3 separate regions of the Homo sapiens genome follow, and all the other regions are linked to region 3. The links are contacts of gene promoters, found by promoter capture Hi-C in blood cells and fetal thymus (Javierre and others, 2016). All regions are on one chromosome and are shown on one strand. The core of a region is centred on a gene start or on the middle of the fragment in contact, and the rest is flanking DNA. Distances in the headings are between cores, read along the strand shown.

Region 1 (2,700 bases), core at 1-2,500, 220 kb after region 3:
GTACATGACTGAAATAGCCTCACAAAGCAATGGGAGGAACTCATGAGACTGGGACAACTGGTTATCCATATGGGAGTAAGTTAAATTAGATTCTCACTCACATCAGCCATAAAGATTAAAGACACAGATGTGAAAGGCAAAACTTTGCAACCTTGAGAAAAAACAATATATAGGAAGATACACTCATTATCATCAAGTGCAGAAATATTTTATATAAGATACAAACATACAAACAATAAAATAAGAGGGATATATTTGATTACATTAAGAGAAAAAAACTATGTGTTAAAAAAGACAACACAAACAAAATGAAAAGATATTATAGAACAGGAGAAAGCATTTGTGATGAATATACCAAAATGAGAGATATTTTAAGAAACAAAAATTATATAAGCTTGATTATTTGATCACAGTGCAGTATAACTAGCTATTAATAATAGAAATTAAAACAAAAAATCATTAAATATAAGGACAGAAAATTAAAACAGAAATTAAAGTATAAGAACATAGCAGTTAGAAGATAATTAAAATAAGAGCACAATATATCAAAAGGTATGAAATATTGTACTAAGAAAATATGAAAATATGAAAGTTGTACTAAAAGTTGAAGTTACAATCTTATTTGTTTTTATTTTCAAGGAAAGGAAAAATAAAAGCATTCAACCCAAGGGTTTATAAAAACAACAATGACAACAAAATCCCTAAGAAATCAGTAGACAGAAAAGACTAAAGGCAAAACCAAAACTAACTGAATTAGGATATAGGAAAACTTACGGAATTAATTCAAGAGCACTTTTTTTAAAAAGTAATAAAGTAGACAAATATTAGAGAAACTAAAGAAGAAAAAAAAACCCTATGAATAATAAAATTAGAAATAAAAAGGGGAGGTTCAGCACCAGATAAGGAGGAGATATTTTAAATATAAGACAATACTTTGCAAAATTATAAATTATAAATCTGAAAACCTAGATGAAATGAATAGTCTGAAAATATATACATTATCAAAATTAGAAGTATAAAACCTACATATGCCAATCACGGCTGAAGAACTTAGAAAAAAAGGAAAGATTTCCCTCCAGGAAAAAAAATGTGTCTAGGCCTAGAAAACTTTACAGGAAAAAAATCTTTCAATTCTTAAGGAATACGTAATCACTATGTTTCAGTAATTTCAAACATTGACAAATATGGAAAATCTATCTAATTTACTTAACAGAGATGACCCTGATATAAAACCCTGAAAAAGACAGCTCAAAAAAAGAAGATAATAAACCTATCTAAATTATGAACATAGAAAAGAAAATCCAAATTCAGATAACAGTATCAAAATAACCCAAGGAGGGTTTAATCTAAAATAAAAAGATTTTATGTTTTAAGATCTTTAAAATCCAATAGTATAATATATTACATCCACAGGCTAAAAAAGAAAATCCAAATAAGATTCTCAATTAATGCAGGAAATACATTAGAATTCAACAGCTGGTCCCTATTAAAAAATAATTACAAATTTAAGAACTTTTATTAACATAACAAAAAGTGTTTATTTCAAACAGTCAAAGTCATCTTTAAGGATGAAATACTAAGGCAATATTATTAAAATCAGGACCAAAACAAAGATATAGTTTGTGGCCATTTTTACTAAATTTTGACCTGAAAGTTCTAACCAATGAAATAGGGCACTTATAAAAATAAGATGCACAAACACTGGAAGGGAGAAAATAGATTTGCAATTACTTGTACATGATATAATTACATTCCCGGAAATTCAAAAGAACAATTCAACTAAGAATTATTAGAATCGATATGAGAGCCCAAGAAAACTGCTAAATATAAAAAAGACACAAAAGCCAAGTACCTTTTGTATATACAAATTGTCTGTATAAAAATTTGTATGTAGAAATTTGCTACATTGCTTTTCTATATAGAACTATTATCCAATTAGAAAATACAACTTTTAGAAAAGATAAAATGACAACAGCAAATATCAACAATGATGACATTGGAAACTTCTATGGAATGCCTTGGAAAAGCTATAATGAGAATGCGAAGGACCCGTATGAAAAAATTATAAAATGCTATTGGGAAATGCAGGTTTGAATACTAAGCTTTATGGCAACGAAGTCAGTGCTTTGCAAATTAATTTGAATGGTCAATATAATTTCAATAAAAATCTCAATAGTATTCTTTTCAGAATTTCACAAAATCATTCTAATGTTCAACCAAAATAATAATTAAGTATGAACAGCAAATAAAATGTTTTTTGTTTTGTTTGGTTTTTGAGACTGAATTTCACTCTTGTTGCTCAGGCTGTAGCTCAATGGTGCAATCTCAGCTCACTGCAACCTCCGCCTCCCGGGTTCAAGCCATCCTTCTCTGCCTCAGCCTCCTGAGTAGCTGGGATTACAGGCATGCGCCACTATGCCCAGCTAATTTTATATTTTTAGTAGAGATGGGGGTTTCTCCATCTTGGTCAGGCTGGTCTCGAACCCCCTACCTCAGGGGATCCGCCCGCCTCTGCTTCCCAAAGTGCTGAGATTACAGACGTGAACCACCACGCCCGGCAACAAAGAAAATGTTGAACATGAAAAGGAATGATGAGACTGGGGCCTTGCCAGCTCTTAAATCATTTTTAAAAGCAAGTATCGATAAGAGTATGGAACTTGCAAAAGAACAAGTGTAAAAATGTACATATCAAGACATAGA
Region 2 (2,700 bases), core at 88-2,587, 240 kb after region 3:
TCTTTGTCCTAATTTGTAGGACAAAGTTGCAACCACATTTTCCTCAATGTAATGCTTATGGGGGGAGGGTCTTAAATTGATTTGAAAGCAGGTTGTATTAGGATTCTCCAGAGAAACAGTACCAATAGGATATACAGGCATACCTCATTTTATTGTGTCTCACTTTATTGCACTTTGCAGATAATGTGTTATTTACAAATTGGTACCGTTGGTACCGTTTTTTCCAACAGCATGTGCTCACTTTATGTCTGTCAGCATTTTTTTAGCAAGAAAATATGTTTAAATGAAGGTGTGTACTTTTTTTAAAGTCATAATGCTGTTGCACACTTAAGACTACAGTGTAGTGTAAACATAACATATATGCACTGAGAAACCAACAAATTTGTGTGGATCCCTTTACTGTGATATTTACTTTACTGCAGTGGTCTTGAACCAAACCTGCAATATCTCTGAGGCATGCCTGTGTGTGCACATATATGATTTATTATAAGGAATTGACTTATGCAGTGATGGAGGCTGGCAAGTCCCAAGATCTGCAAGGTGAGTAAGCAAGCTTGAGACCTAGGAGAGCTGATGGTGTAGTTCTAGTCCAAGTCCAAAGGCAGGAAAAAGCCCATGTCACAGTTCAAAAGTAGGAAGAATTCACTCACTTTGGGGAGGGTCAAACTTTTCATTCTATTCAGGCCTTTAAATGATTGGATAAAGCCCACCTACATTATAGAAGGCACTCTGCTTTCGTCTGTCAATTTAAATGTTAGTCTCATCCAAAACACCCTTACAAAGATAACCCCAGAATAATGTTTGACCAAAATATCTGGGCACCCCATAATCCAGTCAAGTTTGACACAGAATTAACCGTCACACTGACCTATCTGATTTCTAAAGATCTTGGCCTTAAAATTGTGACTTTGGTCTCTAAGGCAATTATGAGGGTGAGTTCTTTGTAAATGGTTTCTCGGATGTATTTGCTTCTATTGAAACCTTAGTAGAGAGGACCCGTCATTTAATTACCTCTTCCTATGTTCTTGATAGTCTTTATTTTTAAAATCTAGTTCAGTTGAATATAATAATTTCTTTCACCTTTTTTAGAAGCTGAGCTACAGTTATGTTTTAGGAAGCTAGTTGATCTATCCAGTAATCTATCAAGTAATGTTGATCTGTCAAGCAAGTTAATCTATCAAGTAATGAAGCTAGCTGGTATTAAATAATTCTTTGTTTTTAACTATTAAATACAGGGCTTTGGGTATGTAATATAAGCAGCATTATGGTAATATTCTGGAAGTTTCAATTATTGCAATGATTGAGAGCATTAGAGTGTTATTTTCTGTTTGAGATATTTTTTAAGATAGTGTTGCTTCAGGAACATTGTAGTCATAATATTTTGCAGTCTAAATCCTTATTTTAAAAAATCTCATAACTTTTTATATCCTATTTAAAAGTATTGATATTGATATATTGGATTGGATTATTAGCTTTATAAATAAATACAATCACTGGACCTCTGTCAGTCCCAAAAACAAAACTTGTTTTGCACCTAAATTGTTTATTTTATTTTATTTTATTTTTAGCTGAGTAGTTAAGATTTCAGGCCTTTTTAAAAAGTCATGTGTTTAGGTATAATTTACATGCAGTAAAATTCACCCTTTTAGGTATAAAGTTCTGGAATTTTGACAAACATAGTCATGTAATCATTACCACAATCAAGACAAAACATTTCCATCACCCCAGGAAGTTCCCTTGTGCTCCTTTGCAGTCAATCCCATTCCTGAAAATAAAATTTTAAATAAAATTAATAAAACTTTCTAAAAACATGTCTGATTCATGCCACTGTCTGTCACCATCATAAATGGACTTACTTGGTCTCAATATGGAATTCACAAGTTATCACATCAGTCGAATAATTATGTTCTTGCTGATTTAGTCAAAGTGAGATCATTCAGTGCTCAATGGATGGCTGCATACTAACATTTAAGACTTGAGAGGATACAGCACAGCAGGGGACTATCATGATGACTGTTAGATAGGATTTGGTATTTAGGATAACACCAAAAAATGAAGCGTATTCCTTAACAGGAGCCCTGAGGGACCAAATTGATCCAAATCAAACAAGTCAAAGCTTAGGTAAGTAATATAGGCAGCTTAACAGTATTTGAGTCCATTTGGCCATAATCCTTATTCAAAGTGTGATGGAAATTAAGGACCACAGCTTGCTATAGAATGATCTGATTTAAATAAGTATCCAATTTTGTCATTAACTTGATAACACAAGCCTTAGTAACCTGGAGACCCACTAGAAGAACATAGATTAGAAAACCCTGGAAAAGCCAAGCTTGCCATCCACCACTCAGGATTCCTGCAAACCAACTGTTAGCTGCTGCCATGGACACAGCATGTGTTCCTTTCCCTTAAGAAATTTCCTTCATGTATTTGATGGCAGTGTCTAAAGAAACAGCAGTTTCACCTTTGTTTTTAGTTAAGCTTCCTCTAGTAACAAAATTAGGGGACAGACAGGCACAATATTCAGTTTTGTCAATACTATATACAAGCCTCCAATTTGGGCGAAAAGAAGCTCTAAGTCCACATGATGTTCCAGTAAATGTTTTTTCTTAAAACATATGCTGTCTGGGCGCAGTGGCTCATGCCTGTAATCCCAGCATTTTGGGAGGCCAAGGCGGGTGGATCACGAGGTCAGGACTTCAA
Region 3 (2,700 bases), core at 147-2,646:
CTTCAAATGCAATCCAAATTCCTTACTGACCCACCTCATCTATCCCCTGCAAACCTCCCCAGTTTTGTTTCATGCCTTTCTCTTTCTAGCTCATCAGGCTCCACTTAGCTTTTTGGCAACTGAAATGTGCCAAATTCTAGCTTGTCTGGGGGCCTGCAACCTATCTGTTTCCCTAACCAGCATACACTCACCCCCTTGCTTGGGTGGCTCCTTGTCTTTTCAGCCTTAAGTGTCAGCTCCTGGGAGGATTTCCCCCTGAAATAAAACCCCCCTTAATCCTCTATTATTAGTCTCTAGTTTCCCACGTAATGGGTAAAACAGTTTGTAACTGATTTTACGTGTGTATTATTATTTTAATTGAGACGGGGTCTCACCACATTGCCCAGGCTGGTCTCAAACTCCTGGGCTCAAGCGATCCACCCACTTCGGCCTCTCATAGTGCTAGGATTACAAGTGTGAGCAACCACACTCGGCCATGTATTTTTGTTTGTTTGTTTGCCTCTCTCCCCCATTTGTGAATTTTTTTTTTTTTTTTTTTTTGAGACAGGGTCTCACTGTTACCCAGGCTGGAGTGCAGTGGCTTGATGTCAGCTCACTGCAACCTCCACCTCCTGGGCTCCAGCGATTCTCCCACCTCAGCCTCCCGAGTAGCTGGGACCACAGGCAAACGCCACAATCACCGGCTTTTTTTTTTTTTTTGTAGGGACGAGGTTTCACCATGTTGCCCAGGCTGGTCACGATCTCCTGGACACAGGAGATGCGCAGCGCCCGCCTCGGCCTCCCAAAGTGCTGGGATTACGGGCGTGAGCCCGCGCCCGACCTCTCCCCGATTTGAACGCGTTTCGAGGACCGCTTCCCACAAAGAGTGGCATCTCAGCCAGGAGGTGAGAGCCCCGAGGGGAAAAACAGGCCAGCCAAGGGGAGTGAGGGAACGATTCCAGGAACTCAGAAGAGCAAACAAAAGCCTTGTGGAGATAGCTTACCGCTACTGAATCAGGAAAAAAAAATCGGTATGTCTGAGGTTAAATAGGGAATAGGGAAATGAGGGGCAAGGTCATATGGCCATAAACAAGGGTCTGGGCGGGGGATATGGGGTTTCGTCCCAAGGGAGGAGAGCAAAGATAACACGAGGGGAAAGGACGGGGGCCTCCCTGCTCCCTCTGGTCCCGTATCGCCCTCACATACGCGGTCAAAGTCCGGGGCGGAGAGGTGGCAGTGACAGTCCACCAAGCCTACGCCAGCCGCTCGCATTGCGCCCCGGCGGCTGCCGCTTTAGACCGGCCAGCAGAGCCGGAGCCGGAACGTTTCAGCTGCAGCGTCCTGAGTTTCCAGCCGGATGCATGCTGGTTACACCAGTGTGAACCCGCTTTTCCGCTCCCAGAGTGCCCCGCCCACAGTTCCGACGAAAAATGGCGGGGTCTCCTGAGTTGGTGGTCCTTGACCCTCCATGGGACAAGGAGCTCGCGGCTGGCACAGAGAGCCAGGCCTTGGTCTCCGCCACTCCCCGAGAAGACTTTCGGGTGCGCTGCACCTCGAAGCGGGCTGTGACCGAAATGCTACAACTGTGCGGCCGCTTCGTGCAAAAGCTCGGGGACGCTCTGCCGGAGGAGATTCGGGAGCCCGCTCTGCGAGATGCGCAGTGGGTACGGGACCAGTTAGCCAGTTCTTTACTCATCATCCTCTTACCCAACACCCAGGATCTTAGGATTCAGAAAGATCCCACGCCAGGCCTTGGCAGAATTAACGGTGCCCCAGGCTACTGTAGAACCAGTTCGAGAAACGCTAGAGGAGAAAGAAATAGATGCTAATGTCAGCTGGGTCTTATTAATTACTTAGACCAGCGCTGTCCAGTGAAAATACAAGGCAAGCTAATCTTTATGTAGTTTTAAACTAAAAGTAAGAAATAGGTGAAGTTAATGGAAATAAGACATTTTGTTTAACCCAATAAATCCAAGGTATTTTAACATGTAATAATATCAAATGAATGAGATATTTTACATTCTTTTGTTCGTACTAAGCTTTTCAAATCTGGTGTGCTGCATTTACGGCACATCTTCGAACTAGTTACATTTAAGCGCTCAGTAACTACAAAGTGGCTAGTGGCTCACCTGTTGGACAATGCAGCCGCAGACAATGAGGAATTCTCCTGGAAAGGGTAATTCTGGAAGTCAGCCATTCACCCAAGCAGCATTTGATCTTTCCTTTTGCATGTTTTATTTATTTATTTATTTTATTTTATTTTTTTTTTTTGAGACAGAGTCTCGCTCTGTCGCCCAGGCTGGAGTGCAGTGGCGCGATCTCGGCTCACTGCAAGCTCCGCCTCCTGGGTTCACGCCATTCTCCTGCCTCAGCCTCCTGAGTAGCTGGGACTCCAGGCGCCTGCCACCACGCCCGGCTAATTTTTTTGTGTTTTTAGTAGAGACAGGGTTTCACCGTGTTAGCCAGCATGGTCTCGATCTCCTGACCTCGTGATCCGCCCGCCTTGGGCTCCCAAAGTGCTGGTATTACAGGCGTGAGCCACCTCGCCCGGCCTATTAACCTTTATTTTTACTGTTTGCACTGTGGTCATTCATAACTCACAAATGTGCGGTATTATGAGCTTTTAAATTTTTTCCGCTAATATAAGTAGATTGGTGCCTGTTATAAGGAAGCACACAATCCCTTTATTTCTTGTGTTCCCAAAAAACTACCACCTTCAGG

The links. Contacts are between HindIII fragments. The CHiCAGO score rates a contact against its expected background, and 5 or more counts as called.
Region 1: a contact is called between a fragment that was not itself captured here and the fragment with the promoter of NSL1 in region 3, in 2 of 17 cell types (activated CD4 T cells and fetal thymus). The highest score is 5.5, in activated CD4 T cells.
Region 2: a contact is called between a fragment that was not itself captured here and the fragment with the promoter of NSL1 in region 3, in 1 of 17 cell types (fetal thymus). The highest score is 6.7, in fetal thymus.

The regions. Positions count from the first base shown.
Region 1 is chr1:212,572,095-212,574,794 of GRCh38, reverse strand. It overlaps a transcript of ATF3 not described here. Among named protein-coding and RNA genes, the nearest start is that of LINC01740, 28 kb to the right of the region's middle. The HindIII fragment of the contact is 1,708 bases long and covers 397-2,104 here.
Region 2 is chr1:212,554,908-212,557,607 of GRCh38, reverse strand. It overlaps LINC01740 (long intergenic non-protein coding RNA 1740), which reads right to left. Exons shown (of 3, transcript NR_125985.1): 3 at 1,542-1,765. Among named protein-coding and RNA genes, the nearest start is that of LINC01740, 11 kb to the right of the region's middle. The HindIII fragment of the contact is 1,563 bases long and covers 556-2,118 here.
Region 3 is chr1:212,790,473-212,793,172 of GRCh38, reverse strand. NSL1 (NSL1 component of MIS12 kinetochore complex) reads left to right here and starts at 1,396. Exons shown (of 6, transcript NM_015471.4): 1 at 1,396-1,643. The coding sequence starts at 1,410. TATDN3 (TatD DNase domain containing 3) reads right to left here and starts at 1,279. Exons shown (of 10, transcript NM_001042552.3): 1 at 1,186-1,279. The coding sequence starts at 1,251. RefSeq lists enhancers at 1,191-1,470, 1,945-2,700. The HindIII fragment of the contact is 10,286 bases long and covers 1-2,020 here.